7 separate regions of the Homo sapiens genome follow, and all the other regions are linked to region 7. The links are contacts of gene promoters, found by promoter capture Hi-C in blood cells and fetal thymus (Javierre and others, 2016). All regions are on one chromosome and are shown on one strand. Each heading gives the region's core, a stretch centred on a gene start or on the middle of the fragment in contact. The rest is flanking DNA. Distances are from core to core; before and after follow the strand shown. Region 1 overlaps SLMAP (sarcolemma associated protein). Region 2 overlaps SLMAP (sarcolemma associated protein). Region 3 overlaps SLMAP (sarcolemma associated protein). Region 4 overlaps SLMAP (sarcolemma associated protein). Region 5 overlaps SLMAP (sarcolemma associated protein). Region 6 overlaps SLMAP (sarcolemma associated protein). Region 7 holds the start of APPL1 (adaptor protein, phosphotyrosine interacting with PH domain and leucine zipper 1).

Region 1 (3,162 bases), core at 298-2,797, 540 kb after region 7:
ACAGTGTTCACTGTTTCTAGAACAAGTGCCTTTTTTTGCTGTTTTGTCTTCTAGAATGACCTCTTCTTGTCATCCCTTAAGGCTCAGTTCCAATGTGAAACCTTCCCTGACTCCCTTTAACTGAAGAATTAATTGCTTCTTCCTCTATACTTCCATTTAACTTTGTGTATAATTTCTTTATTTCTTTTTTTTAAATTTATTTTTATTTTTATTTTTGAGACAGGGTCCCTCTCTGTCACCCAGGCTAGAGTGTAGTGGTGTGATCTTGGCTTACTGCAGCCTCCACCTCATGGGTTCAAGCAGTTCTCCTGCCTCAGCCTCTCAAGTAGCTGGGATGACAGGCACCCCCCAGCACACCTGGCTAATTTTTGTATTTTTAGTAGAGATGGGATTTCACCATGTTGCCCAGGCTGATCTCGAACTCCTGGCCTCAAGCAATCCACCTGCCTCAGCCTCCCAAAGTGCTGGGATTACAGGTGTGAGCCACTGCACCCGGCCTGTATATAATTTCATTATGGGACATAAACAACAAAATAACTATGATGCAAATGTACTACTGTCCCATCAGATGTGAACTCTTGAGAGCAAGAGAATAGGCACTACATTCATGTTTGAATGAGGGAAATGTGAACAATGGAGCGGTTTGTATTTCTGCAAACCTGTGCAGTGTTAAAGGGCAGAAAGTCATTCAAGTTAGTTCTCAATTTGAGATCATGGACTCAATTATCAATATGTAGTCTTTGTATAAGTCATTATTTATTGAGAGCTTGCAGTTTGCAAAACATTTTGCTAAGTGTTTTTGGATCGTAGATCCAAATCTTGTGATTGGTGATATGAAATTATATATATGAACTATTACAATTTCACACAAAATAATTTTAAAAGGTTTTAGAATAATCAGAGTGCTTTCTTGTTTCATTTGGTCTATATAACACTCTTAGAAGGTAAGTAAAACAGCTGCAGTCTGGCTCGCTTTTGTCCAAAAAGAGTTTGATGTTTAGAGGTTATTTGTACAAGATCATCTAGTGGTAACTATGGGAGTTTTTTTCCCCCCAAAATGAAAGCCAACTATTAGACATTTATTCTGAACTGTCTTCTTAGGGACTGAGCAATTATTATGAAAATCTGTCTTTTGCTCTCTTGAAAGGTAATCTAAGCTATTGCTTTTTGATGTATAACCGAAACTTGTCATATTACGGACTTTCAAAGACTGAAATAACTCAAGTTAATTATTTCTCTGAGTCAGCTAACATTTTTAAAAACTTACCTCTACTACTCCTAGAAATACAATATTTTTTCTTGGGCTTGCATTCAGGCAAACTGATTTGGCTTTGGGTATATATGAAAATGAATGAAACAGCCTTGGAAAAACTTGTTTGGCCATGTACATTTTTCATGCTTTATAAGAGAGTAGCTGACAAATGTAAAGAAAAGAAGGAAAGCTTATATAGGCACTTGAAAATATGGACGTGTTTGGTGGTTAGTACTGTATCTTTTGTCAAGTATACAATTTGGGTTGGATTTTAAATTTAAGCACATAGAAACTGTGTGTTAAGATTTTCTCAATATTTTCAGGCTTACAGTTTTATTTATATATAAGTACTGACTTATTCTAGCTGAGCCAAGCAGAAAGGATTTTCCAATATAGACTTTCAAGCTTTTCTTATTTTTTACTTATACAAATAACAGGAATACATTCTCATAAAAAGTCAAGCAGGCCAGGTGTGGTGGCTCACACCTGTAATCCTAGCACTTTGGGAGGCTGAGGCAGGAAGATTGCTTGAGGCCAGGATTTCAAGTTCAGCCTGGGCAACTGTTTATATGAAATGTGTAGAATAGGTAAATTCATAGAAACAAAGATTGGTGGTTTCTAGGGGCTGAGGGTAATTAGGAATGTGATGGTTAATTTTATGTCAGTGTGGCTAGGCTGTGGTATCAGTTTTTCACTTGACCAACTTTTGGTCAAACACCAACCTGATATTCCTGTGAAAGTATTTCTTAGATGTGACTAACATTTATACCATTATACTTTGAGTAAAGCATATTACCCTCCATAATGTGGGTGGGCCTCTCTAATCAGTCGAAGGCCTTAAAAAAAAAGACTGAGGTCCCCCTGAAGTTAGGAATTTTGCCCTCACAAAGCTGTTGGACTCAAGACTACACAACAGCTCTTCCCTGAATCCCTAGTCTAATGATATGCCCCGCCAATTTCATACTTGCCAGCACCCCCCACCCCAGTTGCGTGAGCCAATTCCATTAGATAAATCTCTCTATATAAATGTACATGCAATCGGTTCTGTTTTTCTAGAGCCTTGACTAACATAGGATATGACTGCCAAATTGGTACGAGTTTCTTTTTGGGATGATGAAAATGTAAAATTGATTGTGGCGATGGTTGCACAACTCTGAATTGTATACTTAAATTGGCAATTGTATGGTGTTTGAATTATATCTCCAAAAAGGATTTTCATTTTATTTTATTTTTTTTTTGAGATGGAGTCTTGCTCTGTTGCCCAGGCTGGAGTGCAGTGGCGCGATCTTGGCTCACTGCAAGCTCTGCCTCCTGGGTTCACGCCATTCTCCTGCCTCAGCCTCCTGAGTAGCTGGGACTACAGGGCGCCTGTCACCACGCCCAGCCAGTTTCTTGTATTTTTAGTAGAGATGGGGTTTCACCGTGTTAGCCAGGATGGTCTCGATCTCCTGACCTCGTGATCCGCCCGCCTTGGCCTCCCAAAGTGCTGGGATTACAGGCATGAGCCACCGCGCCCGGCTGGATTTTTTTTTTTAAGACACAAGGTCTCACTATGTTGCCCGGCTGGTCTCAAATTCCTGGGCTCAAGCAACCCTCCCACCTCAGGCTCCCAAAGTGTTAGGATTACAGGGTGAGCTACCGCACCTAGGCCCAAAAAGGAATGTTAGATGAAGTAATAGCTTAGTGAAAGCAGCTTGGGATATAGGAAGTAGAAGACAGTGAGTGAGTATTCAAGGTAGGTAGGATTAACAGAGCAACTTTTGAAGTACCATATAGTTTGATTTTTCTCTCTGCTTCCTTATTGTGAATGTCTTACTCTTGGTTGGACCTTTGTTTTAACAAATGTAGTATATAGATAGTACGTTTCCAATCTTGAAATATTTGTTTCTAGGCACAATTTTGGTGTTATT
Region 2 (2,845 bases), core at 171-2,670, 570 kb after region 7:
ATTTAGCTAACACTGAATACTTCTTGTGTGCTGAGCTCAATTCTATAATTGATAAAAGTTTCTGTCCGTATGGAGCTGACATTCTAGTGTTCAGTATACCATCATCTATCTTTCATCATTACCTCAGCCTATTTAGAACAAATGAGAGTGCTTCTGAAATATTGGCAGCAAATCCAGCATAATTAATTTGTCCTATTAATTTACTGTGTAATAGCAATACTTTCATACATTTCCAGAGTATTCTGGTTAAATTTTAGTTTTGTCCTCAACTACTAGCATTTGGTGAAATCTGCCCATATCTCCTTCAGTTTTATGAATTTAGATAATATATGTACCTTCTTAACCTTGTTCTTTTCTGATGGGTAAACCTTCGCTTATTTTTTAAAGCTGGTGCGGTGACTCATGCCTGTAATCCCAACACTTTGGGAGGTTGAGGTGGGAGGATCACTTCAGCCCAGAAGTTCAAGATCAGCCTGGGCAACAAAGTGAGAACTATCTTTCTTAAAAAAAAAAAAAAAAAAAATCCTGCTGGGTGTGATGGTGTATTCCTGTAGCCCCAGCTACTCAGGACTCTGAGATGGGAGGATCATTTTAGCTCAAGAGGTTAGGACTGCCGTGAGATGTGTTCGAGTTACTGTATTCCAGCCTGGGTAACAGAGAGAGAGAGACCCTTTCTTAAAAACAAAAAAACAGTTTTCTAAAGTCATCAGGAAACTTTTTAGATGAGTCATTCAGTGATTTAGTTTTGGTGGCTGTTCTTTTTATTTTCTCCCTATTCTGAAACTCACTTTCCTAACTTCTTTAGTGTGCATTTTAATAGAACTTTCCAAAATTCTGTTCGTACGCTATACTCTCCTGGTTCTTAATTTTCTGACAGTTTTGGCATTTCTATCTTTGTCTCCATGGTCTGTAGTTACCACAAAGACTTTGTCTTTATCCTTTGGCTTTTACTGTCCTGAGTCTCTTTCAAAAGTCACATACTTACAGTCTTATATTAACACTTATAAGCACTTCGTTTCAAAATTTATGTTTTTTTATGAATTTCTCAACCATTTTAGTTTGTTTTTACTTTTTAAGTGTACACTATAGTGGTCTTTAGTATATTCACAAAATTGCGCATCTATTACCGCTACCTAATTCTAGAACATTTTCATCACTCCCAAAAGAAAGTTTGTATTCATTAGCAGTCACCCCCCCATTTTCTCCTCCCTTCAGACCCTGGCAACCACTAATCTGCTTTCTGTCTCTCTAGATTTGCCTATCTGGACATTTTATATCGATGGAATGATACAACATGTGGTCTTTTGTGTCTGGCTTCTTTCATTTAGCATTTTCAAGCTTCATCTAAGTTCTAGTTTATGTAGGTATTGCATTGCTGGATAAAATTCCATTCTAGAGATAGCTACCACATTTTATTTGTCCATTAATCAGCTGATGGACATTTGAGTTTCTGTTTTCTACTTTCGGCTGTTATGAATAATGTCACTATGAAAGTTTGTGTACAAGCTTTTGTGTGAATTTGTGTTCAGCTGTCTTGGGTACATACCTTGGAATTGAATTGTTAGGTAATATGGTAACTCCGTGTTTAACATCTTGAGGAACTGCCAAAATGTTTTCCAAGGTGCCTATACCATTCCCACCAGGAATTTCTCCACTTCCTGGTCAATACTTCTTAATGTTGGTCTTTTTTGTAGCCATCAGGTGGGTAGGAAATGGTATCTAATGATTTTGATTTGTATTTCTCTAATGACTAATAATCTGATAATCTAATGACTAATAATTGAGCATCATTTCATGTCCTTATCAGACATTTGTATGTATCTTTTTTGGAGAAATATTGATTTATATCCTTTTGAAAAATTGGGGCCGTGCATGGTGGCTCACGCCTGTAATCCCAGCACTGTGGGAAGCTGAGGCGGGCGGATCACGAGTTCAGGAGTTTGAGACCAGCCTGGCCAGCGTCGTGAAACCCCGTCTCTACTAAAAATACAAAAGATTAACTGGGCATGGTGGCGCACACCTGTAGTCCCAGCTATTTGGGAGGCTGAGGCAGGAGAATTGCTTGAGCCTGGCAGGCAGAGGTTGCAGTGAGCTGAGATCACGCCACTGCACTCCAGCCTGGGCAACAGAGAGAGACTGCGTCTCAGAAAAAGAAAAAAAGAAAAGAAAAATTGGATTATCAGTTGTATATTCAGGATATAATTCCTGTATCAGATAAATGATTTGTAAGTATTTTCTCTCATTCTGTGGGTTGTCTTGGTGGTGTTGATTGTGGTAAAATATGCATAACATAAAATGTACCATTTGTACAATTTTAAGTGTACATTTCAGTGGCATTAAGTACATTCACAGTGTTGTGTAACTATAACCTCCATTTCCAGAACTTTTTCATCATCCCAAACAGAAACACTGTACCCATTAAATAATAACTCTCCCTTCCCCCTCCCCCAGCCTCTAGTAACCTCTATTCTACTTTCTGTCTCTAGGACTTTGCCTATTCTAGGTGCTTCAAATAAGTGGAATCATATAGTATTTGTCCTGATAGTATCTTTTAAAGTGTAAATATTTTTAATTTTGATGAAGTCCAATTTATCTATTTTTATTTTTATAAGTAATTTTTAGTAATTAAAACATTTTAAATTCATGTTGTCACTTGTGCCTTTGGTGTCATTTCTAAGAAGCCATTGCCTAATTTAAGGCCATAAACATGTATTTTAACCATTTTGAGTACTCTCTTACTTGGCTCTCCCTTCTATATTTAAAACATCCACCAATATAACTATCAAAGGTTTTATGGGAGGAGTTTTATTAAGTGTTCTGCTCTTTTTTGTTGTTGTTAAGATCA
Region 3 (3,291 bases), core at 671-3,170, 640 kb after region 7:
TGGGAATGATCTCCCTTTTAGCTTTCAGGGATGCTGTTAACTCTGCTTTAGCTGCCATTCCCTCTATCTATGAGACATCTAGGATAAGGACAGATCAGATCATAGGGTAATGATAGGGTAATGTCTAGTTGGTCCTTTAGAATCTTATAACTGAGGAAAAAAAAAATCTTATAACTGTTTGTGAAGGTCCATCTTGGTTTAATTCAAACTATGGATTGAGTGCCTAGAAGATATGTGTTTGTTAGAGAAGACCAGAGCATACCTCCGTTGGTTAACCTATGATAGTTTTCAAAGTTGGTCTTGTTAAAAGGAGATTGTCATTGTCCATTTTTGTTGCTATAAAGGAATAGCTGAGCCTGGGTAATTTATAAAGATAAGAGGTTTATTTGGCTCACAGTTCTGCAGGCTGAAGCTTCAGGCTGCTTCCACTGATGGCAGAAAGCAAAGTGGAGCTGGTACGTGTTCCATGGTGAGAGAGGGTCTGGGAGAGGTGCCAGGCTCTTTTTAAAAACCAGCTTTCATAGGACTAATAGAGTGAGAATTCACTCATTACCATGAGGACAGCACCAAGCCATTCATGAGGGATCTGCTCCCATAACCCAAACACCTCTCATTAGACCCCATCTCCAACACTGAGGATCAAATTTCAACATTGAGGCTTGGGGGACGAACATCCAAACTATAGGCAGAGAGGTCTTTTTGAATAGTGATTGTACTGTCATCTCGTTACTAAATAATTTTGTTTAAAATTTCAGAATGTTAACATGATAGAACTTCAAAATTGAAATGATAGTAATTTTAGGGAAAAATCTTACTTCCCTCTTTAAAAATACGATTTTTTTTTCCACATTGACCCTTTACCTCTGTGTGTACTGAGCCTACTTGCTTCCTCCAAGTTTCTCTCTCCTGGGTGTTATGGAGGAATAACCCAATGCAGATAATTTTTGACATCAAGCCTTTGTCTTTATCATCTTTACTGGTTTAGAAATGTCAGGTTAGCCGGGCGCAGTGGCTCATGCCTGTAATCCCAGCACTTTGGGAGGCCAAGGTGGGCTGATCATCTGAGGTCAGGCGTTCGAGACCAGCCTGACCAACATGGAGAAACCCCGTCTCTTCTAAAAATACAAAATTAGCTGGGTATGGTGGCGCATGCCTGTAATCCCAGCTACTTGGGAGGCTGAGGCAGGAGAATCACTCGAACCCGGGAGGCGGAGGTTGCCTAGGCAACAAGAGTGAAACTCCATCTCAAAAAAAAAAAGAAAGAAAGAAATGTCAGGTTTACAGATAATGTTCTGTAGAACATTTCTTTTCTACAGAACAAACTTTTCTTAGAAGTTTAAGTGAATAAAGGCATTCCTGGGGCTCGCTCTTAAAACAGAGTTAGGTTTGTTAAATAACTGAATTTTCTTATTTTTCTAGGTAGCAGAGGGAAAACAAGAGGAAATCCAACAGAAGGGACAGGCTGAGAAAAAAGAATTACAACATAAAATAGATGAAATGGAAGAAAAAGAACAGGAGCTCCAGGCAAAAATAGAAGCTTTGCAAGCTGATAATGATTTCACCAATGAAAGGCTAACAGCTTTACAAGGTAAGTAGCTAATCCAGAAATTGATTTTATTTTATTTTTTTTCTTGTTATCTGTGAAATATCTTTTTTTTTTTTGGACTTTTATTTACAGTACGGTTAGAACATCTTCAGGAGAAAACTCTTAAAGAATGCAGCAGCTTGGGTAGGTGGCATCCATATTTCTTACTTAAACCTGAATTTTATCCTTAAACTTTTGACCTTGTTTACTGTCTCACACTGCATTTTTTAAGGGATGTTTTATGTATTAGGTATAAAGTATCTATATTCTTTTAGAAAATTTTCTTTAAAAATATGCTTGATTGCCACCAGTGGGCACCATTGTTTTCCTTGAGATGAGTGAAATTTCTGCTCTGAGATCTTCTACCTCGGGATATTTAAATAAGAAAAGTACATGAACAGCAGGATCCCTTTTAAAGTGTTCTATACAATCTTAATCTTAGGAATGCAGAATGCCATGGTTACACTTGAGACCACATTTAAAGTAATACTTCTTTGATCAGGCAATGATATACTGTCTTAATCCTAGGGATACAAGTTGATGACTTCTTACCTAAAATAAATGGGAGCACAGAAAAAGGTAGTGTAAAAAACTTAAATATATATATACTTTTTATGATATCATTTTAGTATTTAAGCAGGATAAGGAGTTCAGGGTTTTAAGTGTTTGGAATGAAAAGCATGCTCTCACAGATCATTGAACCCCATCATTTAAAAATCAAGCTTTCCTTTATTTTGTAAGAGTTGATGCTGTGATCAATTCTTAGATATCCCTTGTTATATGGAAATTTCAATTACTCAAATCAGAAAATTATTAAGTTCACCTTTAGCAATATATAATATAGATCTTTTTCCCCACTCTGTTTTTCGAAGAGCTGTACTACCATTTTGTTTCATCAAGTTCTGCCTCCAGTGATACTTGACCCCCATTTAAAACATTCGAGTTTATTTAACAGCTTATTGAGCCCTTGGACATATCATAGAAACTACTTTGTTTATCCATCTGTTTCATTGATCAGAGAGAACAGGGTCAGTTTTTTCTGCCATCAGAAAAATCTTTTATTAGTTGTTGGTTCTGTGACCCTTCTTTCTGGACAGCGTGGGTTCTCTCTTGCCAAAAACATATAGCCACTATTGGTTTTCCTGTCACTACACGGGGTACTTTTTACCCAGTGACCTCTATTATCCTTCAGTCTTGAAGATCCCTAGTCATTCTCCTTCTCTCCCCTTCCATCTAACATTAATTGAGCACCAACTATGTGCCAGACCCTGCGCTAGGTGCTTGGAGTACAGTAGAAATTAAACTCTTTTCTGTGTTTACCAATCTATGTGCCTTTCATCTCAGTTTTCTACAGAAGTTAGTCGAAGATATCAGAGTTGATACCCAGAACTTATTAAATATTTTTTCCCTTAGCCAGGCATTGTGGTGTGCGCCTGTAGTCCCAACTACGTGGGAGGCTGAGGTGGGAGGGTCAGCTGAGCCCAGGAGGTTGAGGCAGCAGTGAGCCATAATTGTGCCACTGCACTCCAGCCTGGGTGACGAGCAAGGCCCTGTCTTTAAAAAAGAAAAGAAAAGAAAAGAAAAGACAAAATATTTTTTCCATGTATCAAGGGATATCATAATAGTTCTTGGGCAGCAATCAAACTGGTAGAGTTAGGAGGTGGGTTTTTTGGTTCTTTTTTGGTTTGGTTTTGTTTGGTCAGGTT
Region 4 (2,830 bases), core at 149-2,648, 590 kb after region 7:
GGGGCTTGTGCAGGGGCACTGCTAGTAGTTAAGCAAGGGTGGAATGGATAGTACTTTGAGAAAAAGAGGAAGATTAGGTTAGATAGGGTGATTAGGGTCATTTTGAAAGACTTTGAAAGTCACAGCTCTTGGACTTGATTTTGAAGTCAGCAGAGGGTCAACAGTCTTTTTATAAAGTGAAACAATGTGATCAGGTTTGTGTTTTAGGAAATAAGTCTAGCATCAGTGTGGAGGGTGTAGAGTGTGGAATTATCTTGGCAATGGTTAGGGTAAGAGGAACTGTAATCGGAAGGGAAAGGCAGTATGCAATTGAGAGATTTTACTGAATCAGAAATCATAGGAATTGGTGACACATTAGATGCCCTGAGGTTTTATTGATATTATTTATTATTACTGATAGTATTATTACCGTTATTATGCACTTACTGTAAGTGATTTCTGATGGTCACAAATCCATTCTATTATTAGTGGCTGCTGACTGAATTTCTGTTAAGAGATGCTCAGGAAATGATGGGTAAATGATGAGATGAGTCTAGGTTGTAGATGTTACAGTCATGTAATATTTATTTAAAATATTTATTTGGTTCCTGCTCAGAAGGCATTTTGTTTAGGATTGGGAATACCCCAATCTTCAAAGAATTTGCCATATTCATGAGGAGTCTAAGCGGCCTTGTTTGCTGTTCTTTCTGTATAATCTTTGGACTTATGTTTTAACTCCTCATTCTGTTGGCTCATGTGGGATGCTGCTTATTTCATAGTGTTCTGAAGTTTAGATGAGGTAGTGTATGTAAAGTACCTAGTATAGCTCCTAGCATGAGCAAAAGCTAGTTCCCTTCTACTCTGTCATGGACACAGAAACTGGAAAACCCAAATTTATTAGGATTGTGTGTCAAATAGGTGGTAGCAGGTAGTGAATGAATTTCTGAAAGAAATTTTTAAAAGCTTACCTTTCCTGATGATTTGGCATCAGAAGGTCTGATTGCTATTTTACTATTCTTACCATTGTGACTATAGATAGGTCACTTGGTTTGTCAGCCTAAATTTACTGATTTATAAAATGAACAGAATCCTTGCTGTTTTATAGGCGGTCTGGAGAAATAGTAGAGATAGTGGATATAAAATTGCCAGATAAACATTAAGTAGTATAGCAGAATGGTTGAGATCTAAAGTTTACTAGCTTAGGAGACCCTTTGGCGAGTTACTTAACCTCTTTTAGTCCTGATTTCTTTTTTGTTTTGTTTTGTTTTGTTTTTTGAGATGGAGTTTCACTCTTGTTGCCCAGGCTAGAGTGCAGTGGCGCAATCTTGGCTCACTGCAACCTCCGCCTCCCGGGTTCAAGCGATTCTCCTGTCTCAGCCTCCCTAGTAGCTGGGATTACAGGCATGCGCCACCACACCCAGCTAATTTTGTGTTTTTAGTAGAGACAGGGTTTCTCCATGTTGGTCAGGCTGGTCTCGAACTCCCGACCTCAGGTGATCCACCCGCCTCGGCCTCCCAAAGTGCTGGGATTACAGGCGTGAGCCACTGCGCCTGGCCATAGTCCTGATTTCTTTATCTGAAGTATGGGGATAATATAACATCTGCCTCATGAGAGTGTTATATAGATTAAGTGAAAAAATGCATGCAGAGTAGTTTATCCAAGCACATGGTAAGCACTCAAAAACTGGCAATGATTATTGTAAATTATGTGGTACCCTTTTGTCACTGTAGAATAATTTTCTTTGATCTTGCTTTCTCTTGTTAAAACTTCTGTATATAAGTGATGTATATAAGTGATTCTGGATATAAGTGATGTTACCTTTGATGGTAGTGAAAGAAATCAGCAATGCTTTTAAAAGAAAACTTCATACTTTCATAAGCTTTGGCTCCAAAAACTTCCTAGGGAAAAATGTCTAGGGACTTATGTTTAAGTCATAAATAGAGATAGAATTTGAATGTGATACTTTCTATTACTAAATTTCAGTTCAAAATTTTAAAAGAATTAGTGATTCTTAACTGGGAGCATTACTAATTCTGAGAAGTGCTGGATATCATGAGAGGTGTTTGAACAGCTGAATCATGTGGCAGCAGAAAAATGAGAGCCTCTGTACTAAACTCACATAAGGAGTTTATTTTCCTTCTTCCAAATAGTCATTTCCCATTTCAGACAAAATGACTGTTTCATAAATTGCATTGTTATTATTTCCATTTATTCACTTATGGTCCCCAGAAAGTTTGTTTGCTTTGTCTTTCAAAGTAGAATTATTATAATTTTTAAAGAACTTACCTGTGGATGTCTAAATTTTCAAAGCCTTGAGGAGATATATCTCTCAAAGAATTAACTATGACTAAAAACGAAGAAATATGAGTAAAGACCAAGATGTTTGAAACAAAGTTATATGCCAACTTGAATGATTGTGCCTAAAGAATGAAAAGGCCATCATAATTATTTTCATTACCTCATAAATTTAAAGCATTTTTAAAAGCTATGAATGTTCTTTTTTGGGCAGGTGTACTATTTATGTCTTTTAACATTTCCACTGAATTTGTTTGCCAAATAAATTCTTTGTGTGTGGGCAGGTTTTTCCCCCCCACAAATAAGATGCATAGTCCTATGATTTTCCAATTTTACCAATCTTTAATGGAAATTTTTTTCTTTTAGTTTCTCTCTCTCCTACCTCTTAATGACTGTATAGATCAATATCAACTATCCTTAGATGGAGCCCATTGTATGCATTATTAAACAGTTTATAAGGCTTTAAACCTAGTGACCTTGTTCTTTTTTTCCCACAAATGTGATCACGGGTACTTCCTTTTGTGGCAAACATGGCTGTTATTCTATGGGTAAGGT
Region 5 (2,880 bases), core at 225-2,724, 620 kb after region 7:
AAATAAACTTTAGGAAGTTTAATATAACTTAGCTTTTAAGAGTTAAGAATTAAGGTTTTAGAAATGAGTAACTATTAATCAACTAATGATATATTGCTTCTTAAAGACCTTGATGTTTGTATTTGATAATGAGATTTTTCTTTCATGCAGTTTGAAAACTTTGAACAGTTACGTAAGGAATCATCTGTGTTCTCAGGTTCCATCTAGTAGAACTTGTAAATTTTTTCAAAGTCAGTTGGAATGTATTGTGTCTCTATCCTTTGTGTTTCTCTAATTCTTTTCATCTTTGCCCATTTTCTTCTCATTGTTTGTCTTTTCTTATATGGTTAAATATTAGTATCACTTAAATTTTTGCTGCCAATATAGTTATACATAATCTAACTTTCTGGAGAAGATGAATTTTGAACAAGCAATTCTCCAGAGCTGGAGGAAGATCAGAATGGCCTTTAGAGTTGGGTAGTCCAGTTTAAAGTCTGACTCCACTTGTTCTGTGACTTGATCAGGCAACATTTTTCTCATTTGAAATATGAAGATGATGATAGTACCTATTTAACAGGAATTTTATGAGAATTAAACAAGATTTAGTACTTAAAGAACTTGGCATAGTACTTGGCATATAATAAGCACACAATAAACTTTAGCTGTTTCTATTACTGTAAACTAATTTTTAAAAGCATTAAGATGCTTTTGGGTATGCCAGAAAGCCTAGAGTTTAAGTTCCATTGTGTACATAGCATTTATTGCTTTTAAGAACTTCAGAAGATAGTAAGTACTCAACAAGCTGACTTTTTTCCTTCCTTAATTTTTATTACACTGCACAAATAATTTTCCTTTTGTTTTGTTTTCTTTTTTCTTTCTTTCTTTTCCTTTTTTTTTTTTTTTTTTTTTTTTCTTTGACAGCCTGGTTCTGTTGCCTAGGCTGGAGTGTAGTAATCTCGGCTTGCTGCAACTCCACCTCCCGGGTTCAAGCAATTCTTGTGCCTCAGCCTCCTGAGCAGCTGGGACTACAGGTGCACACCACCACGCCCAGCTAATTTTTTGTACTTTTAGTAGAGATGGGTTTTACCATGTTGCCCAGGCTGCTCTTGAACTCCCGAGCACAGGCAGTCCACCCACCTTGGTCTCCCAAAGTGCTGGGATTATAGGCCTGAGCCACCACGCCTGGCCAATAATTTTTAAATGATAAGAAACAGAGAGGCCTGGTCAATAATTTTCTAATGATAAGAAACAAAGAGGCCCAGCCAATAATTGCCTTCCTTCCTTCCTTTTCTTTCTTTCTTTCTTTTTCTTTCTTTCTTTCTTTCTCTCCCTTTCTCTCTCTTTCTTTCTTTTCTTTCTTTTTTTTTTTTTTTTTTTTTTGAGACAGAATCTCACTTTTGTCAACCAGGCTGGAGTGCGGTGGGATGATTTCGGTTCACTGCAGCCTCCACCTCCCAGGTTTAAGTGATTCTCCTACCTCAACCTCCCAAGTAGCTGGGATTACAGGTGCATACCACCATGCCCAGCTAATTTTTGTGTTTTCAGTAGAGATGGGGTTTCACTATATTGGCCGGGCTACCTCAAACTCCTGACCTCAGGTGATCTGCTCCCCTCAGCCTCCCAAAGTGCTGGGATTACAGGCATGAGCCACTGCACCTGGGCCAACCATTTTCTAATGATTAGAAACAGAGAGGCCTGGCGCAGGTGGCTCGTGCCTGTAATCCCAGCACTTTGGCACTCTGAGGCGGACAGATTGCCTGAGCTCAGGAGTTTGAGACTAGCCTGGGCAACAGGGCAAAACCCCGTCTCTACTAAAAATACAAAAAATTAGCCGGGCGTGGTGGTGAGCGCCTGTAGTCCCAGCTACTCAGGAGACTGAGACACGAGAACAGCTTGAACCCCGGAGGCGGAAGTTGCAGTGAGCCAAAATCAGACCACTTCACTTCAGGCTGGGTGACAGAGTGAGACTCTGTCTCCACAAAAAAAAATTTTAAAAATTAAAAAAAAAAATTGCATATAATCCCACCACTCTAACACTAAGTAACTATTTTCATTTTCCACATTTCCTTCTTATGGTTTGTATATGCATATGAACTTAATTCATACTTCAGAATATACTTATATCCAGGGTAGTTTTTGTAAAATACAGATGTATATCACTTATGGAATGTGTTGCCGGATTTTTAGCCATTTGTTTATTAATGGGATTGTTATGAGAAGATTTTATACTTGGGTCACTAAGAAAGGTGAATTAAAAAAAAAATCCCTATTATACCATTTGTTTCTATTTAGACTTTTTTTTTTTTTTTTTTTTGGAGATGGAGTCTTGCTCAGTTGCCCAGGCTGTAGTGCGGTGGTGTGATCTCGGCTCACTGCAACCTCCGCCTCCCAGGTTCAAGTGATTCTCCTGCCTCAGCCTCCCAGGTAGCTGGGATTACAGGTGCCCTCCACTACACCCGGCTGGTTTTTGTATTTTTAGTAGAAACAGGTTTCACCATGTTGGCCAGGCTGTTCCCAAACTCCTAACCTCAAATCATCTGGCATTTAGACATTCTTAAGTTCATTTCACTATATGTGCATATCTGCAGAGAAAAGGATATATACCCACAATGGTTATCTCTGAGTGCTGGTATTGAGTAATTTTTATGTATTTCCTCATGATTTACTTCACACATTTTCCATAATCAATATTTGTTATATTCAAGAAAAATAAATTATTGTTTAAAATGCCTATTTCAATGTTCTGGAGTAAAGTTATACATAATTTTAAAAAAATCTTTACTAGGCACCAACTTTGTTAGGGCCTGCTGATGGGCTTTGGGCATATACAGGTGAATAGGTCATAGTTCCTGAGAACACAGATGTATAATCAAAGAAGGACAGTAAAGTTTATGTAGGCTC
Region 6 (3,279 bases), core at 159-2,658, 660 kb after region 7:
ACAGAGTGAGACTGTCTCAAAAAAAAAAAAATAGTGATTATAGATTGACAAAATGCAACTCTTGAGGATGGTAGTAGAAAATGGCAAAATTTAACCGTGTAAAATAGATTCTCAATAAATATCTAAAATGGAAAAATAAAATCAATGTATTATTTAGAAATATAAATGTAAGTATCAGAAGAAATGGCTAAAAGTTGTAGGAAGTGAATTTTAGGAATGGAGTGAAGTAGGACAGAGGACAGGTAGGACAGCTTACATTATACATCTTAATCAAAATCTGTTACTTTCTGTTTTTTTTTCTTTTTTTCTGTTTTTTTTTGAGATGGAATCTCGCTCTGTCATACAGTGGCGCCATCTCTGCTCACTGCAAGCTCCGCCTCCTGGGTTCACACCATTCTCCTGCCTCAGCCTCCCGAGTAGCTGGGACTACAGGCACCCGCCACCATGCCCAGCTAATTTTTTGTGTTTCCAGTAGAGACAGGGTTTCATCATGTTAGCCAGGATGGTCTCTGTCTCCTGACCTCGTGATCCACCCGCCTTGGCCTCCCAAAGTGCTGGGATTACAGGCGTGAGCCACTGCGCACGGCCCCTCTTTCTGATTTTAAAAAGTCAGAGACAAAGTGCCACATACTGCAAAGAGCCTATGAGAAATGAAAATTAAGAAAAGGAGCCATGGGCATTGGGAGACTAGAGGCTATAATGATATTGGAGCAGTTTCAATGGTTGAGTGGTGGATGTAGACCAAGTTGCAGTTGGTTGTAAAGCAAGAGAATAGAAAATTTTCTTCACATATATTACAAATGAATAAATTGAAGGAGACCAACTGACATACAGGAGTAAATAAGGGGACACAGAATAGATATATCCTCTTCAATGAAACGTGGAATATGAAAATATGACTTTAAATTATAAAAAAGTAGCATTATACATTTACAGAAAATCCCCCATAAAACAAAACAAAATTTTTTTATTTCTTTGAATAGCTTTTCTAAAATGATTCATTTACTGAAATACATTATATAGGCATCTCTGCTGAATTATGTCAGCAGAGAACAGTAAACTATCGATATAACTTAATTTTTATTACTTCTTCATTTGAATAAATACCTTTTCATAAATCTTTTATTTTAACTTAATAGCCTTGATCTAAAGAGGATTGCTTTATTTCTTCTGAGCCCTTTTTATAAAAATATCTAGGCTTTTAAAATAAGGTGAAAATAAAAGGCAAATTGTCTGCCTGCCCCTAGTTTTCTGCATTAACGTGATTGCTCCGTCATAGTTCCAGTTCTCTTAGTTCCCCTTCCAGATTCAAGTTTTTATTCAAGCTTGGTCATAGGAGTAATGTTATCATCTTTAAATTTGGTCATGGAATGTGTTACACTGCCCAGCTCAGGGAAATGCTGCTCAGTTTGGGCTTGGATGGTAACGTTTATTTTCCTTGGCAGAGAAGCTGATCGTCGAAGGGCATCTAACCAAAGCGGTAGAAGAAACAAAGCTTTCAAAAGGTTTGTTTTCTGTTTTTCTATGTTTTTTGACAGTTCTTTTGGATAATGAAGGTTAGTGTATATTTTCAAGGTTATAGTATTTTAACCATCAGTTTACTTCTTATAGCTCACAAAATAGCAAGCCAGTAACAGTATCAGATAATATATAAAATAATCAGACTTCTGTTTTAAGAAGGGTATCGTAACTGGAATGTGTCTTTTTAAGTGGATGTATATTTATGGTTTTTTGAATGTTAGTACTTGATATAGGTTTCTTTAGGTATTAAAGATTTGTTGCAATCTCTGTCATTCCCAGCATTAATTTCAGCTTTGATCTCAAATTTTAATCAAACACAATGTAAGTCGTTTGTGATACAACTTAAGTGAAACATGCTTGCACTTCTATTTTGGGGGTTACAGTACCTTTAAAATCTCTTATGATGTTTAATATTTCCTTAATTTTTGGCATCTCAGTTTGATTTAAACAAAATTAATGACTTTTGTGAATGTAGAATCTTCTTATATTTTATGAGTAGTCCAGTAATTGCCCAAAGTAGTTTATTGTGTTAATTCTGTTACAGTTGTCAGAGAAGAAAAGTGAGTTTTAAAGCACCATATTGTCAAGTCACTTTTATACATAGGGAAATTAGGCAAATAAATTTGGTGGCATGTGTTTATCATAGTAGAACTTTCATTAGACTATACCAGTATAAAATTTAAAACTAGATTCACAGTCCTTTTGGCCAATTAAAACATTGAGTTACAAAAGTTTGAGATACTTAATTTTAGTACATTCTATTTTATTAAAGTAACTGGATTCATTTGACTTTTTTAACCATGTAAGAGGATGGTGTTATTTCAAATATCTCGTGGTTTCCATTCTGAATTTTGTGCACGGCAGATGCCATATTTGGGGAAAAAATGCATAGAATATGCATCATTAATATTGTTTTGGCAAACAGGCATTGAGTTTCAGAACAGTGAACTATTTTTAGTACATATGGCAATTTTTTTCACCTTATTAAAGTGAGATGAGAACAGACCTTAAAATAGCTTTTACCTCACCATCCAAATACCTATTCAGATTAGTTGGTTGAATAGCCAGCACTTTGAAGTAGAGCCTTAGGAAAAAAAAAAAAAATGCTTCTTTAATTAAAATATCTTGCTATCTTATCACTTATATTTAATGCATTCTAAATTAGAAAATATTTTCTTGAAATTATGTTTTATCATTATTGGAAAAGTTTTGTGCATTACTGATTTCCCTTTTTAATTTATTGTTTTTATCTTATTGATACATAATGTGCATATTTTCAGGATATGTTTTATAGTTTGATACATTTAATGTATAAAGATCAAATCAGGGTAATTAGAATATCATCACTTTAAATATTTATCTTTGTATGATTTCCTTTTAAACCTGGCTATAAACTGTTTATTGGAAGTTTTAAAGAACATGCCTTTTGATCCAACAATTCCACTTTTGGGTTTTTAACCCTTTTTTTTTTTTCCTTGAGACGGAGTTTCGCTCATGTTGCCCAGGCTGGAGTGCAGTGGCACAATCTCAGCTCACTGCAACCTCCACCTTCTGGGTTCAAGTGATTCTCCTGCCTCAGCCTCCTGAGTAACTGGAATTATAGGCGCATGCCACCATGCCTGGCTAATTTTGTATTTTTAGTAGAGAATGAGGTTTCACCATGTTGACCAGGCTGGTCTCAAACTCCTGACCTCAGATGATCCACCCGCCTCGGCCTCCCAAAGTGCTGGGATTACAGGTGTGAGCCACCATGTCCGG
Region 7 (2,839 bases), core at 211-2,710:
CTCAGTTCAATCAGGAAGGTCACTTACCTTGAAAGTCTTCCTTCTTTAGAGCTGGGGTGCATGGTGTTCTTGTTGGCAGAGTAGAAATGAGATATCAAGGAAAAAGAAACTGTAACACAACTGGGAACCCTTAACTCATTGTAAGAACTGCCTCCAAATCAACTTCCTCAAAAACTAAAGAACTCTTCGGGAGAGAGAGACTGGCTGATAAACAATCTAAGGGGAAAACTTTTAAAGATTGTAACACTAAAAATAATTCCGTAAAACTACAATGCAAGTCTACTCAACAAAACTTTAAAAATATAATTTTATTTTTCTTTCAAGAGATCATGGGAAAATCTACTATTTTCGTTTAAAATATATAACTTCTATTTGTTACTATATTTGGATTTGAGCTACTACTATTCTGGATTTGTTCCCATGTATCTGTGGAACCAGGCAGCTAATTAATCTTTACTCAGCATCTCTGGTATTTCTTGAATGAAAATGGAATGGATTGGTGGAATTAATGGCTAGATGTTTAGAAGACACTACTTACTTTGTTATTTTCTCTGTATAATGATGAAAGCCTACAACTATACAGAGACATAAACGAGCCAGGGTGACAGGTTGGGAAAGATGAAGAGGGAGGAGGAAAGGATAGGCTTGTAGCCCTCATCCGGTCAAATTCCCAACTTTGAGCTTCACTTTATTGTAAAATTAGAGGCTAAAACTATTTAACGCTTCCAAAACTTTTTGATTCAACAAATGCCAATTAGTTACTAACATAATTAATCAGTGTATCCTGATTTTTAAAAGATATTTTCCTTTGTGATTTAAAAGAAACATGGGAGTTGGAGTTGCAGCGTCAGTCCTGAAGGACTGACCTCGGGAGGCCAGGTAGGAACTGATAAACTGGCAACAAAATCACATGTTTTCAACTGAATATACTGATATTCAAGCGTCCAGAAAAACAATTTCGAGCCTACGTTCACAAGTTTGCCAGAAAGCCCTATTATTGACACAGCTGCGGATCTCAGACATCTGAGTTAGTCAGCACCATTCTGCTGGAGGGGATTAAGACTGGACGCTTCGAGCGGAGTTGGGAATGTTATCATCTGAGGAAACTAAAAGGCGCCAGCAGTAGGACTTTCTCCAAGGTCTCTGACAAAATATGTTGCGGGAAAAGTCAACCCGCCCCAAATTCCCCCGTGTGGCCCTAACTCGAGGCTCTGGCTCCTCGCGCCGGCAAGCTGAGGAAGAGACGGTCCCCTGCGATTTAGATACAAACGCGCGCGTGCAGGGAAGGCCATCCCAGGGCAGACACTGCCACCTCCGCCGCTTCCGACGCCCGCGCTCGCGGGAGAGCCTAGCGCCGCACGGGAACCTCCCGACCACCGCCGCAGCGCGGATGGGCGTCCCCGGGAGCCAATGGACGCGCCGGGAGGCGGGGCAGGGAGGCCGAGGGGGCGGGATTTCCCGCACGGCCGCTCGGCGCCTGGAGAAGGCTGTGCGGGCGGGGACGGCTGCAGCCCTTGCCGGAGAGGGCGGGCCGGGGTCAGCTGCGGCGGGCGGGCCGGCGCGGGGAGCTGTGGGCGGCAGCTGCGTCTCCTGCCACCGCCCTCCCTCCGCCACGATGCCGGGGATCGACAAGCTGCCCATCGAGGAGACGCTGGAGGACAGCCCGCAGGTGAGGCGCGGGAGCTGGTGGGCGACGAGGGAGAGCCCAGCTGGCCGACCCCAGGTCTGGCGCCTCCGCGGCTCCCGCAGGTGCCCGCCCCGGCCCAGGTGGGGGCCGCCGCCGCCCTAGGTCACCGCCCGTCGCAGGCCGCGCCCGGAGTTGTGGAGGCTGGGCCCGCCGCCCAAGGCCCGCGTGGGCCTGCTCGGCTGGGCCGAGGGCCGCAGGCGGAGACCGAGCCGCTGGTGCTCGTGGGCCGGGCGGTCACGTACGCGCGCGGGTCCTTTTTATTTGACGAAAGGCGCCGTTTTTATCGCGGTGATGTGAGGTGCCAAATCTCGATCCTGGAATTTTCTCCCTGAGAACCTCTTCAGAAAAATTGCAGAAGGGAGAGAAACCCCGATAGTCTTATTTAATGATTTCCGAGGCTCAGCAAGCTAAGGAAGGAAATGGATCGTTTTTCTTTGGGAGAGGCTGTAAGGTTGTGTGTGGAGCCCTAATGGCAAAGCCCGTGACGGGTCCCGGAGCCCAAGACCGCTCTCCCCGCCGAATGTGCCCGTGTCGCGGCCGTGACTGTGGTCGCTGTCACTCGAGCTGTGCACGGCGAGGGATGGACGGTGCCTTCGCCGCTCCGCGACTGCTGCGCTGCTCCCTGCAGACTTGGCCTTAATAAACTCATCAAAATAAAAGCCCTGTGTTCTGTGCGTCGGAATGATGCTGATGTGGTTGCTCTAGCTTAAGACAGTTTTGGAAAATGTAACCATTTAATATGTTTTCAGTACTGCAGAATGAAAGCAGCTATATTTTTTAAAATGTTGGCAGGGGCTGTAACTTGCATAGGGAAAACTTCATCTCTAAGCCGTTTTACACGATAATTTAAACGGTTTAAGACGGTGTTGCTGGTTGGACACTATTTAGAATGAAACATTTCTGAATTGTTGCTGATTTAGAAATGCAGTTGCACCATTTCGTGTGTCTTTACAGTTGAACATGGCCCCCAAAGAAGAAAAGCAGAAGAGGTCTAGATCTCCTTTTCCTGGATGGCACTTCTGCCATGGATTTTGTGCCAATGTTAATTGCCAAGTTGAAATGGGGCTCTGATTGTAGAATTGATTTGTTCTTTTTTATTCTGAAAGTTATCTTCACAGGCCAGTTGCCTGCTGCTAATGTACTCTTAACAGC

Evidence for each region. The method cuts DNA at HindIII sites, captures the fragments that hold promoters and counts their contacts. A CHiCAGO score of 5 or more calls a contact.
Region 1: a fragment that was not itself captured here is called in contact with the fragment with the promoter of APPL1 in region 7 in 1 of 17 cell types (fetal thymus); the score reaches 5.1 in fetal thymus.
Region 2: a contact is called between a fragment that was not itself captured here and the fragment with the promoter of APPL1 in region 7, in 2 of 17 cell types (naive B cells and endothelial precursors). The highest score is 8.6, in naive B cells.
Region 3: a contact is called between a fragment that was not itself captured here and the fragment with the promoter of APPL1 in region 7, in 7 of 17 cell types (total CD8 T cells, naive B cells, M2 macrophages and 4 more). The highest score is 7.5, in total CD8 T cells.
Region 4: a contact is called between a fragment that was not itself captured here and the fragment with the promoter of APPL1 in region 7, in 6 of 17 cell types (naive CD8 T cells, endothelial precursors, megakaryocytes and 3 more). The highest score is 6.8, in naive CD8 T cells.
Region 5: a fragment that was not itself captured here is called in contact with the fragment with the promoter of APPL1 in region 7 in 3 of 17 cell types (naive B cells, endothelial precursors and erythroblasts); the score reaches 7.4 in naive B cells.
Region 6: a contact is called between a fragment that was not itself captured here and the fragment with the promoter of APPL1 in region 7, in 8 of 17 cell types (naive B cells, naive CD4 T cells, naive CD8 T cells and 5 more). The highest score is 6.4, in naive B cells.

What each region holds. Positions count from the first base shown.
Region 1 is chr3:57,766,721-57,769,882 of GRCh38, forward strand. The region is part of intron 2 of SLMAP (sarcolemma associated protein); the gene reads left to right. Among named protein-coding and RNA genes, the nearest start is that of SLMAP, 12 kb to the left of the region's middle. The HindIII fragment of the contact is 215 bases long and covers 1,441-1,655 here.
Region 2 is chr3:57,793,394-57,796,238 of GRCh38, forward strand. The region is part of intron 2 of SLMAP (sarcolemma associated protein); the gene reads left to right. Among named protein-coding and RNA genes, the nearest start is that of SLMAP, 39 kb to the left of the region's middle. The HindIII fragment of the contact is 168 bases long and covers 1,337-1,504 here.
Region 3 is chr3:57,863,129-57,866,419 of GRCh38, forward strand. It overlaps SLMAP (sarcolemma associated protein), which reads left to right. Exons shown (of 25, transcript NM_001377540.1): 11 at 1,420-1,588; 12 at 1,679-1,729; 13 at 2,114-2,164. Among named protein-coding and RNA genes, the nearest start is that of SLMAP, 110 kb to the left of the region's middle. The HindIII fragment of the contact is 770 bases long and covers 1,536-2,305 here.
Region 4 is chr3:57,816,919-57,819,748 of GRCh38, forward strand. The region is part of intron 2 of SLMAP (sarcolemma associated protein); the gene reads left to right. Among named protein-coding and RNA genes, the nearest start is that of SLMAP, 62 kb to the left of the region's middle. The HindIII fragment of the contact is 917 bases long and covers 941-1,857 here.
Region 5 is chr3:57,842,439-57,845,318 of GRCh38, forward strand. All of the region lies in intron 4 of SLMAP (sarcolemma associated protein), which reads left to right. Among named protein-coding and RNA genes, the nearest start is that of SLMAP, 88 kb to the left of the region's middle. The HindIII fragment of the contact is 3,716 bases long and covers 1-2,880 here.
Region 6 is chr3:57,888,596-57,891,874 of GRCh38, forward strand. It overlaps SLMAP (sarcolemma associated protein), which reads left to right. Exons shown (of 25, transcript NM_001377540.1): 15 at 1,446-1,505. Among named protein-coding and RNA genes, the nearest start is that of FLNB, 120 kb to the right of the region's middle. The HindIII fragment of the contact is 170 bases long and covers 1,324-1,493 here.
Region 7 is chr3:57,226,269-57,229,107 of GRCh38, forward strand. It overlaps APPL1 (adaptor protein, phosphotyrosine interacting with PH domain and leucine zipper 1), which reads left to right and starts at 1,461. Exons shown (of 22, transcript NM_012096.3): 1 at 1,461-1,669. The coding sequence starts at 1,616. It also overlaps a transcript of HESX1 not described here. RefSeq lists a silencer at 1,259-1,918. The HindIII fragment of the contact is 8,451 bases long and covers 1-2,839 here.